Regions from separate parts of the Homo sapiens genome. Here region 2 is linked to region 1. The links are contacts of gene promoters, found by promoter capture Hi-C in blood cells and fetal thymus (Javierre and others, 2016). All regions are on one chromosome and are shown on one strand. The core of a region is centred on a gene start or on the middle of the fragment in contact, and the rest is flanking DNA. Distances in the headings are between cores, read along the strand shown. Region 1 holds the start of SEMA5B (semaphorin 5B). Region 2 overlaps CD86 (CD86 molecule).

What was found. Contacts are between HindIII fragments. The CHiCAGO score rates a contact against its expected background, and 5 or more counts as called.
Region 2: a fragment that was not itself captured here is called in contact with the fragment with the promoter of SEMA5B in region 1 in 4 of 17 cell types (fetal thymus, total B cells, activated CD4 T cells and 1 more); the score reaches 7.5 in fetal thymus.

What each region holds. Positions count from the first base shown.
Region 1 is chr3:123,023,965-123,030,418 of GRCh38, forward strand. It overlaps SEMA5B (semaphorin 5B), which reads right to left and starts at 3,799. Exons shown (of 23, transcript NM_001031702.4): 1 at 3,500-3,799. RefSeq lists an enhancer at 4,403-4,910. The HindIII fragment of the contact is 2,453 bases long and covers 2,255-4,707 here.
Region 2 is chr3:122,096,556-122,103,009 of GRCh38, forward strand. All of the region lies in intron 2 of CD86 (CD86 molecule), which reads left to right. Among named protein-coding and RNA genes, the nearest start is that of CD86, 44 kb to the left of the region's middle. RefSeq lists an enhancer at 4,505-4,694. The HindIII fragment of the contact is 5,609 bases long and covers 1-5,188 here.

The DNA of each region.
Region 1 (6,454 bases), core at 2,549-5,048:
ATCTGTCTACTGCCAGGGTATAGGTGGTGGGGCACCAGAACTCAGCTCTGGGTTCTTTAAGGCAATATAACATAACAAGGTGGCATGCACTTCTAATCAGGGATCTTGTCTTTTTGTCTTCTTTGTCCATTCTACCACCTCAGTCATCAATGAAAGTGGTGAACTGGTTGGCTGGTAATGAGTTGCTAACTCAGATCATTGGATATAAGAGGGTGACCAAGACTAAGCACGGGAGTGTTATGGTCAGTGTTCAAATAATTGGACCCAATAGCATCATCTTCCTAAATACACATACTCCATCCATAAATGTCTGCTGTTCCTCTATCCCCTTGATGGGTTCCCATCCCTCTTTTTAGATCCCCACTCAGGCATCAGGGCTTTCTGGATGTTCCTTGGAATCTGCAAACATCCAATGTGAGCTTCTAGTCTTATCTCATCTAACCCTATTGCTACATTAGATGAAACAAAAAGTTATGGTTGAATTTTCTCTTTTTTGTAAAAAATAAAATTGGTTTACACCCACTGGATTCCCAGTGGGAATGGGGACAGGAGATCTGAATCCAGTCTTTGCTCTGCATGTGGAACCTTATATCAATGGATGTGATGTGCTCAGATTTGAGTAAAACAAGATGGCTCCCTCAAGGAACTTATCATCTGACAGAAGAATCTTAATGGGCCCTGAGAATGAGGGTGAGCCAAGGGCCCAACAGGTCAGAGGTAGAACCAGGCCATGAGATATTCCAGTCAATCCCCAAGGTACAGGGAGACAAGATAACATGTATATCCAAGGCAGATGAGCTCACTTCTTAGAATCTTAATATCTTTATCTATAGATATAAGGGGTCAGGCTACTTAAAGGCTGTTAATTGATTTTGTTAGGATCATTTCACTTGGCCAGTTTGGCTTTGAACTCCCAATTGTCCATAAGCTGGGCCACTCTAATTGCCTGATCAACACACTGTGACCTGCCTGCCCTCTGTAGGCATTTGAATTTGTGCTTCCCCTGACATGGACAATCTCCAGGGCCTCTCCCAGCTTTGAGTCTCAATAAGAAGTGACCACTGTAGGGTCTTTCAAACAAGCCAGGAAGTTCATCCTAAGACAAGAAAGTTTCTGGGGCTCCTCCAGTCCTAATGGGGAGGTAGCAATCTACAGTGTTGGGCTGGACCTCTCGGCTTCTCTGGTTTTCTAGTCTGGCACTAGAAGTGGTAAAGGAACTTTTTCCCCTCCCTAGTGGGAAAGGAGGTGCTGGCTGTCCTATCTCAGGGCAGAGTCAATAAGCCCAGCTCTCTGTCCCACCTGAGTCATCGAGTTTTTTTTAACCCTTCCTCTCCTAAACCCTTGGGTCATCAGGCACCTTGCTGCCTGTACAGCCACTGCATGTTCCTCTCCATGTTCTCCCTCCCCAAACACATAGACAAGTGTCTCAGGATCAAACTGGTGAACTTACTAACCTCTCTGGGCATGGGCTCGGCCCTGTACCTCTTTTTATCTACCAGCATTTAGCATGGTGCATTGCACATAGTAGGTGCTTAAACAGTGTTAGATGTCCACGGTGATGATTATGGTCGCTACTGTTGGCTTTGGAGGAGGAAGGCTCTGGCACTGGCTGCTTGGAAAAAGAAAAGGGATGGAAGATCTGCCATTCCTTCCCAAACTGGTGGTGATAGGTGTTGATATGGAGAAAAGAGCTCCCCCTGAAACCCACACTCACCTACACACACCTTTCCCAACACAGCAAGCCAGAGGCAGCCCTGCCCCGAGTGGTCTACCCCCACGCCCCAAGGCCCAGAACAGTTCTCACCGCCCCATGAGTGACCAAGTGGCAAGTTCCCCCATCTCTCCTATATTTTATCTCCTTTCCTCCTCCGTTGAAAATCTAGACTTCGGGAAAGGTACTGGCTGTTTCTTTCCAAGCTGCTTTCAAATCTGCCCCCCTTTTCCGTAATCTTGAGGTCCAGTTACAAGGTTCAAGTTCCCCTCTTGCCCCTTCCTCAAGGTCATCTGTCCCGGCTTAGAAAAGGTGAGAGGCCACTGCTGATTGTCAAGAAGAGAACAGGCTTAAAAAGATGAGCTGAAGTGGGGAGGCCGAGGAGCAAGCAGGCAGGGAGGGCTGTGGAGAGAGGCCCCGAGGCCGAAGTGGGTTGGGGTGCCTGAGAAAAGCGGAAGGAGGTCGGATTCACTAGGGGCTGAAGGAAAAAGATGGGGTTAGGGCCAGAGAAGGTAGGATCGTGGTGAGGTCTAGACACAGGCAAGCTTCCAAACCCTCAGTCCCAATTCCGTTGGCCGGGAAGGAGTGCATGCCAGGGTAGCCCGCCCTCCCGGCTCCTGCTGCTCTCACCCCGCCCCTCTGCAGAAAGCCTGGGCAGGATCGCAGGGGTGCGGGCAGAATCCAGCGCTCCTCTCTCCCCATCCAGACTCTCGGCCCACTCCCGCCTGGCGCGGCGGGCAGTCGGAACTACCCAAAGACTGGGCTCGAGGTGGGGGGCGGGGGCGGGGAGGAGGGGGCCAGAACGGCGCTGCAGGTGATCCTCCTCCTTGTTTAAAGTTTGCGGTGGGCAAAGGAGTCGGCTCCGTTGGGCCGGGTTTTCTCGAGCCTCGCCTTCTTCCTCCGCCGGTCCGGCGACCACTTCCCTCTTGGCTCCCGCCCCGCGCGGGTCCCCGATCCCCTCTCCCGTCTGCATCCCTCTCTGTGCCCGAGCGCCCCCCGCTCCCTCCCTCCTCGCTGGATCTCCCGCAGGACGTGAGCGGAAAGTGAATGGGCAGCCCCAACCACAAAGACAAATTACCATGAGAAACATAAATCGGGAAATCGCCGCTCGCGTCCCTGCTTCCAGCTGCCGCACCCCTCTCCACCCTCCCAGCCGGGAGTGCGGGGCCCTGAGCCACTGCCCCTGGAGCCTGGTGGGCAGAGTTCACGCTCCGCAGGCCTGGTCAGGGCAAGAGTGTCCTGGAGGCGGGTCTGGGAAGAATCCGGGCGGCGGCTCCGCAGGCGGCGGCGGTGGAGCAGGGACGTCCCTGAGCGGGAGATTTCACACTCTGGGCGGGCCACGCGTTCCCACGCGCCTCGCCGCCCGCACTCTCCCTCAGTGCTGTTTACTAGCCGGCCCTCTCTGAGCCTCCATCTCCGCACCTCTGTCCCTCCGTCCCTCAGCCTCACTCGTCCGTCTCCTTCTCCAGGCCTGGGTCCCGGGTCCCCATCGCCGCTGCAGCCCAGATGCGCCGACCACAGCCCTGGCAGGGCCCAGTGCAACCCGGACCCAAGCTGGCTGGCGGCGGGAACGCAGCAGCGATGAGGGCTCTCAAGCCGAGGTGGCAGCGGGAGGCGCGGAAGCCAGGGGACCCCCTGTCCTCCCGCCCGCAGCCTCACCTACCTGGCTTCAACTTGCCAGAGCCCGGACCCCTACCTCTCTACCCCGATACCCACCCGAGTTGCTGAAGTTTGCAAGTTGCAGCCCCAACCCGCGCAGGGGAAGCGCCCGGGGCTCCCGGGACTCACCTCCCAGAGGCGGGTGCAGGTGCCCGGTTCCCCGCGGCTCCCGACTCCCGGGCGGCGCGGAGCGGCGGGAGCTAACCAGATGGGCTGGCGGCCGGTCTGGGAATGGGGCGGCCGCGCAGGAACGGCCTCCAGCTCTCAGCGCTCCGGTGCAGTCCCCACCCGGGCCCGCGCCCGCTGCGCTCGGGCTCCCAGCAGCCGCTGGATGCGCTGCCGACCCGCCCGGCTCGGCGGAGCTGGGCTCTGGCACCAACCCCCGCGCTCCAACTAGCTCCCGACCCGGCGCTCGGAGAGAGCAGGGAGGAGGAGACCGCGGGAGCAGAAGGAGGGAGGGGGCGGTGGGGGAGGAGTTGCAAGCAAAGGGAGAGAAGGAGGGGAGCGGGAGCGAAAAAGAGGAGGGGGCTGGAGCAGACCTGCCGCGGCGGGCGCTGCACCCGCCAGCCTCGAGGCGCGCGGAGGAGCGCGAGGGGGCGCCCTGCATCCCGCGGCTGCTCGGCCGACTCCCGCCCCGGGCCTGCCGAGTGTGGTGACCAGCCCGGTGGGCCGAAGCCCCTTCCCCGGCCGGCATTCCGGCGGCAAGACCTAGGACTCCGAGCACTTGCCGCCGTTTGCCACATCCCGCCTTGCCGTTCTCGGTCACCCCATCTCGAATGTGACATCCCCGAGGGCCATCGGCGCGGCCTGCCCACCCCAACACTCAGGGCCTGAGGAAGCTCCCCCAAACCCCACTCCGGACTCCCACATTCCCCAGCCCCGTCAGTTCGGAACGATCTTCCTGCCTGTGGATTTGAAGGGGAAGGGACCTCGTGTAAAACGGGGGAGAGCCGTTATAACCTGCAGCGGCAGAGAGGGAGGCTAGGCTGCTGGGCTGGGCTGGAAAGCCAGAACTGGCCGGATTAGGGTTAACCTTGCAAACTGTACGATACCGAGCGAACCTCTCCAAGCCTCAGTTTCCTCAGCTGTAAACTGGGGTTAGTAATACGCACCCTACAGAATTGTGAAGAACGAGTAGGGGATACGGGGAGTAAAATAACATCAGGAACAGTGGGAGGGCAGCCAAGAGATGAGCGATCCGGGGAGGTGGTGGAGCGTTCTCAGCTGAGGACGGAAGGTTTAGCGCAATCACAAGGAGCGAGGCCGAATTGTTTACAAGTTTAAGTGATCTAGTGTTTCTGATGGCTAGAAGGCGGGAGAGAAAGATTCAAGGGGCAAGCTTCAAATCCTAGCTGCCCGGGCTGCAAGAGGGATGGGAAGGGAGCCCTCTGCTGAACAAAAAATATATTTGAAAATGTAAAAAAAGGTGACCTAAGAACGAGTGAGAAAGACAAAGGATTTGAAAAATTAAAACCAGGAAAGTGTGATTCTAAGAGATAACCAAAGAGAACTATGAAATAAAAATAGATAAGTTGGAGGAAGGAAAATATCAAAAGACTTTCTAGAGTATGCCAAAAATTGGATAATTAGAACAAAGTCTGAGTGAAGCATTTTACATAATAAAATTCTGGGTAAAGGAAAACCCAGATAAAGCAGAAGAATTGAGACACTAAGAGCCCCAGAGAAGCACCTCCTGCCTGCCATCCTCCTACCCCTGGACCATGGCAAGAAGCAGTTTGACAGGATAATGGGAAAGAAAGGGTGGTTCTGAATCCAAGAAGGGAGTTTATGAGACACTGTAAAAAGAGAAACAGTGCAAGATCTCAAAGATAGACTTTCTAGGGCAACAGAAATGCTGAAACTCATAATGTGCAGAATGGAGAGAAACTTGCAAAGGGAAAACACGCTCTGGACACAAAGGCAGAGATGCAGAGAAGAAAAGAAAGGAAACGGGCATGTGTGGGCATACCAGTCTGGTAGCCCAGTCTGGGGTAAAAATCAAGTTGGAAGAGGCAGCATGGGATATTGAGTCCAAATCTATCATTTTATCAACAAGGACAATGAGCTCTGGACCATTCTCCCAGAGTCCCAGGCTGAGATAGGGATAGGTCTCCTGATCTCCACCGTGGAACCTTTCCACTGCAATGAGCGTGCCCCCCCCCCAACCCCCATTCCCTGCAGAGCCATGGGGAATGTTTTTGTCATCACAAAAAATAGAAGTATGTGCAATATAGAGATACCTTTTAATTAACACAAAAAACCACGAAGCTATTCCATACTGCAGGACCAGGGAATGAACAGGAGAGCTTCCAATTTGTCTGGTTGGGAGAATAGACAAAATGCCTTCTGAGTGGCTCTGTCAGCCACAGCTCTCCCTTGAAAGATAACCAAAATATTCTCCACCCTTCACACATTCTCTCACCTGCCCTCTTGTTTGCTACCATGTTTTGATTGTGTTCATTCTTTTCTTCCCACTATCATGTCAAGGCCTTTCCTGGCTCTCCCTCTCCATGTTATAAAGTGGAGAGGGGGTTTGGGGGCTTGGCACAGGAAGGGAAGAGAGGAGACTCCAGGCTGGGGACACAAAGAGGGAAATTTTCCTTTTCAGGGGAAGCAGGAGCCAGGACAAGGAGGCACCCAAAGAGACAGACCAAGTAGCAGGGCAGCTAGCAACATTGGGCTAATTAATCCTAATTGCATCCTAAAGCATTGTATTGATTAACAGTGATTACTCAAGAGCTCTCAATACAAGAGAGCTTCAGAAGCCCAACCCTCCGGAAGAGACAGTTTCTTTACTGGCCTGGCTTACCACCTGCTCTTTGGCAAACCCAGCCTGGTTAGAATCTCTGAATCATTTACTTGGAACAAAACCTGGAGCATTGATTCCATCACCACAGTATCACAACCAGCTTCTGCCACCTTCCTTAGACCTTTGCAATAACCTATAAGATAATTGCTTCTGTTAGGAGCAATTCTTCTTCTACCGAAACATTGTAATTAAGCAGAATGGAAATATAGTAATTAACACAGTGTTATCTCAAGCAAACAAGCTAAAGAGCGGTGAATATAGGGGGTGACGGAGTT
Region 2 (6,454 bases), core at 1,134-3,633, 930 kb before region 1:
ATTAATGCTTACCACAGGCCAGTATTTGATCCAACACTAACTCAAATATTCATTTCTTTAATCCTCACAACAAACCTATGAGGTAGGTACCATTATTGTTCCTGCTTTTTGCAAGAGGAAACTGAGACACAGGGAAGTTAAGTAATTTGCCTATGGTAACACAGGCAGTGAGTAGTTGAGCTGAGATTGAACTCACGCTGTCCAGAATCCATGCTATTAGTTATAATAGTGTACTGCCCTATAGCTTTCTGTTTCACAGCTACATGGCATTACTTTGTATGGATGTATCATTATTTGTTAAACCATTTAACTTATTTCCAGTGTATTGTTCTTATAAACAATGAATACCTGTGTACCTCTAATTTTGTGCACATGTATCTTTTTGTAGAATGAATTCTTAAGAAATTGAGTTGCTAAGTCAATGCTTAAGCCCATAATTAATTTTCTTACATATTACCAACTGTCCTCCAAAAAGGTTGTACCAATTTAGAATTTTACCAGCAGTAAATTCAGCAGTTAGGACCCATTTTCCTAACACTCTCGCGGACACTGGGTATTACCAGTATTTTTTTTAATACGTGCCAATCAAATGGGCAAAAAGAATGGTTTCTCACTGAGGTTTAAATTGCATTTCCCTAGTTATTCTTGAGATTTTTCCTTTCCTTTCTTCAACAATTACTTATTGAGTGCTTCATATTTGTAAGGGACAATTGCAGGTACTGGAAATGTCACAGTGAGGAAAAGTGACAAAGCCCCTGCTGTCATGGAGCTTATTCTAATGGGAGATGTCAGGTGCTCAGCTGAGCTGGGAGAGAGAGAGCTGAGTTGTCAGGTGTCAGAGGAGCCAATTATAGCAGCAAAACAAAAATAAAATAGTTCAGCTTTTAATCTCTTACTACGACGGTATAATCAAGAGGCTAAAATGGGAGGAAGGGCAGACTCTGCCTGTTCCATTTCCCCACATAGAGTGAGTATACCAGTCGAGGGTCAGGTAATCAGTGCAGACTTAGGGGGTCGCCTTACCATTGAAGAAGCCCCAAATGAAAGGCTCTAGCAGTTTTATGGACCTGGGGGTGGAGGAATCCAAGGGTGGGGAGAATTCATGAGGAAAATGAGGTGAGAGGGCTAGGAGTGGAAAAGTACAAAGTACTGAGTTAGCGTGGGGAATAGTGTCTTTAGGGCTAGGAGTGGAAAAAATACTAGGTACTGAGTCAGAGTGGAAAACAGTGTCTTCAAGGCAGGGAGTGGAAAAGTGCTAGGTACTGAGTCCGAGTGGAGAAAAGTGTCTTCTCTATGATGAGGAGGCTTCAGCAGAGGTGCCTGAAGACCTCACCCCAGAGCCTCAGATAAAGAGACCTAAGAATGAGGGTGCCTGGGCTAAGATTGCAAGTATGTGAAAAAGCATGACTGGCGGGAGGCTGAGATCTTGATTGCAGCCCCCTTCAGAGACTGCCATGCACTGACTGTGCACCAAGTCTGCTGTAGAAAGGGCAACTTCCTCAGCAAGGCTTGTCAGATTAAGCCTCTTTAATTGCCTGTGGTCAGGTCTGAAAAATCACACATAGATTTTTAATCAGAACCCAGACATCTCAGGAGAGACAGACAATAACCAAACATACCGTGTCATGTCATGTCATGATAAGTACCACAATAAATATAAGTCAGCATGAGGGACAGAATGCCCAGGATGCTATCTTCAATAGAATGGTTAGAGAAATCTCCCTGGGAGGTAGCATTTAATGAAAGACCTACATGAAGTGAAGGAGAAGCTATGAGACTGTCTGGAGGAAGAACCTTCTGGACAGAGGGAACAACATGAGAAGAGGACTTGAGACAGAGTGTGTGATCTTTTGGAGGAATGTCAAGGGAGGCAGTGTGGCTGGGGAGAGTAAGCAGGGGAAAGAGGCCTGATAGGTACTGGGGACCCAATTACATGAGGTCTTGTAAGGCCAGGGGAAGGACTTTGGATGTAGTTCTCAGTGTGAGGGGAAGGGATCTGGATATATTTTTCAGTTTGGTGGAAGGCATCAGAGGCTTCTGAACAGGAGGATTATGTGATTGGAGCTGTATTTTTAAGGGATCATTTTGGCTTGAGAAACTAGACCCGGGGACAAGGACGGAGCAGGCAGATGAGTTAGGAGACAATTACATTAGTCTCCTCTACCCTTTTCTTAACATATTGGAGTTCAGCTCTGGCTGTAGTAGTTCTAGATCTCCTCAGACACACTTGTGTAGAGCCTCTGTTGGGTATTTTGGGTACACAAATGATTCATCTTGGTTATACAGATGATTTAGATGATTGTAGACAGAAGAGGGTTGTCTGGTCATTCCCAGACAGGGGAGCATTCCTTGAGATAGAGTAGAGGAAGGCTGAAGGGGAGGAAGACAGTACCTGTTGCTATCTAGATAGAGACATCCAGCAGGAAGTTGAATACAGGTATCTGAAACTCTAGTGAAAGTTATAGGCTGGCAATAAGCACCTGGGAGTTATTAGCTTTTACTTGACAGTTGAATCCGTGGGGCTAGAGGAGAAAAACCAGGAAAGTATGGAGAATAAGAAGACCAAGAACATGCACTCAAGGTTACCAAAATTAAAGAGTGATTTGAGAAAATTAACAAGGAAATCAGAGATTGGGAAAGAATAGAGCATTTCAATGAGGAGAGATGCCAACACTTGCATTTGACACAGCGGTCAAATGAGTTGAGATCTGAAAAGAGCTCAAGCCTTGGCCATGGTGTGAAGTCACCAACAACCTTTGTCAGGGAGTTTCAGTAGAGAGGTGGGGGTGGGAGGCTGGGAATAAAGGCAGCAATTGCTGCTTACTCTTTCAGGGAGTTTGACTCCAAGGGAAAGAGAAACTAAAAGCAGTAGCACAAGGTTTGTGTTTGAAGTAATGGAGGTGAACCAGGTGAATAGCCTGGAGGCCGAGTGAAGTGAGACAGGACACTGCAGATTTGGAATGTCACCAGTCCGCACAACTGAATAATTTCCTCCAGAACTGCTCAATTGCCCAGTTGTAAGAACAGATATGTAGACCAAAAGTAGAGTGTCCCCAGGGTAAATTTTATAGAGACAAAGGGGTGTGTTTATTGAAGTTGTGGAAAGGAATAATTACAAAGACATACTATTGTTGCATTGTCCAATATAATAACCACTAGCCATATGTGACTACTTAAATTTCAATTAATTAAAATTAAATAAGATTAAAAATTCATCTTCTCAGTCATACTAGCTATGTATCAATTGCTCAATAGCCACAGGGGCTGGTGGCTATCATATTGTTCAGCACAGAGACAGAGCATTTCCATTATCACTAAGAGTTCTTGTGGAAAACACTGCACTACAGGGTCTGGATAAAGCTGAGGTCTTGATTAAGTTGAACAACAGTTGTAGAAGGAGTAAGCAAGAGCAAAACCTGGATGAATAGGAGGTTGTGGACGGAGATTAGTATATTGAGATTAAGATTCTAGGGACTGAGCTGCTCCAGGTGAAAAGTTTCAGGGTTATGTCATAAGAAGGTGGGGGGCAGCTGCTGAAATAGTCTGCGGGTGTAGACCTGTGGAGTTGACAAGATCAAAGAAATTTGAGGCAAGGTTGTTAGACTCATTCATGAAGAAGTCACCCAAATTGTTAGCAAGACCTTGCATCTAATGCCAAAATCCTCATTTAGCAAGGTGGTAGTGACTTAGTAGCTACAAGCAATGAGAAAGTCAGACACCTCAAAAGGGGAAGGTGTTGCTCAAAGTCCCCACAAAGTGTGATAAAACAAACAGTAGCTGGGGCTGGAGCAAGTGGCTTCCTTTGGGTGAAGCCAGATTTCACTGAAATAATAACCTCAGGGAAACAGTCAATGAAGGGGTTAAAGATGTGGGAGAGTTTCCTTGTAGTAAGTAATGGAATGAGGCTTTCAAAGGGCCAAGTAAAACTTTGGAGGAAGTTTAGTAAAAGAAGGAATTTTTTTTAGTACAGATAAGCATAGGAACATAAAGAAGAGATAATTCTTAAACATATAAGATATGCATTTGGGGATAGCAGCCAGGGAACACTGAAGTCCCAGTGGGGTCAGAGACTTCATAAGGCTAGCAAATTACAGTTTTTGAGTGGCATTCCAACAGTAGAGTGTATTGCTCAGGAAGTCCTTAATTATCCTTTGAAACAAATTCCTTCAGCTGATTACGAAGGCATCTAGCTGGATTCTTGAGCGACTTGTTCCTGACATCATAGCAACCCATTGTAACTAGACTTCGACCATTCCTCTTACCCAAGTGCTGGGGAAGGGAGAGATTCTCAATGCTTACCCACCTATGGAATCCCAGTAAGTCCAGTTGCTAGGTGGCTTGAGGTCTGGGGTCATAAAATGGAAGGCCTGAAGTCATTTGGTGATCACAGACCTTGAGCCAAACTTTCCCCATTTAGTCAGAGAAAGGATTAGCAGCATCCCCCATGCCTGGCTCTGTGTGAGATCATGGAAGCCAGTGGTTGGTGAGGTGCTATGGAGTATAAATTGCAAAATACTTTCAGTTCCACTCAGAATGGATTTCAAAGTGATTTCCACCCCATGGGGAGGAGAGGGAGTCTGAGGAGGGATGGATGGAAAAAAAATTTTCATGTCATTTTCTGTGATCCACTCTGGAGACAGAGGCAGAGATTCTCTACAACAGCTGCTCAAACTATAGCTCTTGTTAAAATGGAGGTTCTGAATCAGTAAGTCTTGGGTGGGGCCAGAGATTCCGTGTTTCAGACCAGCCCACATGTGACGTGAATCTCATTGGTCCATACATCACACTTTCAGTTGCTAGGTGAAGAAGGGAGCACTCGATGAGTGGAAGAGAAAGCCGTTGTAATCTTTGGGAGAAGGGGCCTGGGTCAGCGGAGTTAGACTGGTCTGTGAGTGGACAGAATGGATGGGAAGGAAAGAAGATACTGTGAGGCTCTACAGAAAAAAAAAAAAAAAAAAATATATATATATATATATATATATATATGTAAATCAAGAAGACAGAAGCAGCTAAAGACGAAGTCATTTCCAGGTCCAGAAGGCACAACTGACAGCTGAGTAATAACATAACATTGACTGTTAATTGGCAGAATTTTTAACTGTGTGTTTGGTTTCTCCATCAGGTCATCTGTCCTATATTACATGACAATTTAGACTAAAACCAGTATTTCCTCAGAGACAATGCTAGAAGCTTTTACAGTAGGGGGCACTCTTGCATTACATTAAGAGCTCAGCAAAGAAGATGCAGAAGCCTCAGGTTTGCCTTGTAAGGTGATTCATAAACACACTAAATCTTCCTTAGGTCTCCCTTTCACTGTCAGGGTACGCATATAGATTTTCCTTCCTCCCTCCAATACCGGTACGCATCCTCTACAGGTGGTGCATTTTATACCTCAAGTACTTCACAGGGTCCTAGTGAGTGTAGTGAAATAGGCAGTGATTCATATTTGTGCAAACTCCCACTGATGCCTGCTGTCTGCTTCCCTAAGAGTTCAAGACCACCACCAACCCCTTGATTATGTGTTCTCACTGGGCCACTCTGTACACAGTTTAGTTTGACAAGTGCATGTCACTGTTATCTGTCCTTCTATTCCCTCTTTCAAGAGAAACCACATCAATTTAATTACTCCCCCACTTAGAACTCTTCAAATGAAGCTCCTCTCATCTCTCTCATCAACCCATCTCCTCCCTTTCCTCCTCAATGTCAACATGCCTTCACATAAATCCTGAATGATGAAATTTTATTTAGAACTTACACTAACTTCCTCTCCAAGGTGGCATCTAACTTCATATTAAGTAAGAAACAGCCTTCCCACTCTCCACCCCCGCACTTCTCACCCACCACTGCTTACTTTTTTTTTTTTTTTTTTTTTTTTTTTGCCAAGTCTCAAGTAATTCTGTAACCTAGAAAAGGTCCTACACAAACCCCGTGATCATTCACATTTAAGTAGTTGGGTGGCCCACATCCTTCCCACAAACCCCAAAGTGTCCTCAAGGACTAAAGCCTTTCTCTCAACCCTTCCAGCATGATGTCTATGGTTGTAAAATTGTCCAGGGTCAGTGCATACTGGGAGCAGCAAGTTTGTGGTGCCTGGGGTTTCCCCAATACTCCCAAAGCACATCCTCACCTGCCCATCTATGATTCATTTTCAGCATTTCACTCATGTGCCTTAAATGGTCATTGACCACCACAATCCGAAAACAGCCATCAAATTTGCCCAGTTCTCTTTCTGATCTCTGAAAGAGCTTAGAGAGGTCACTGAAAATAAAGGCCTTGGTTCACTATCGAAGTCATTTCTAAAGCATTTGACATCCTTGGAAGTGCTGGCCATGGGAGCAGCAGTCATAGGGGAAGTTCTGTAAAGGGAGCTATTTGAATTTCAAAGATGTTACTCAACGTGATTCCCCAACTAATGAAGTATAATAAAGGGGGGCTATAATTTATTACCATTATC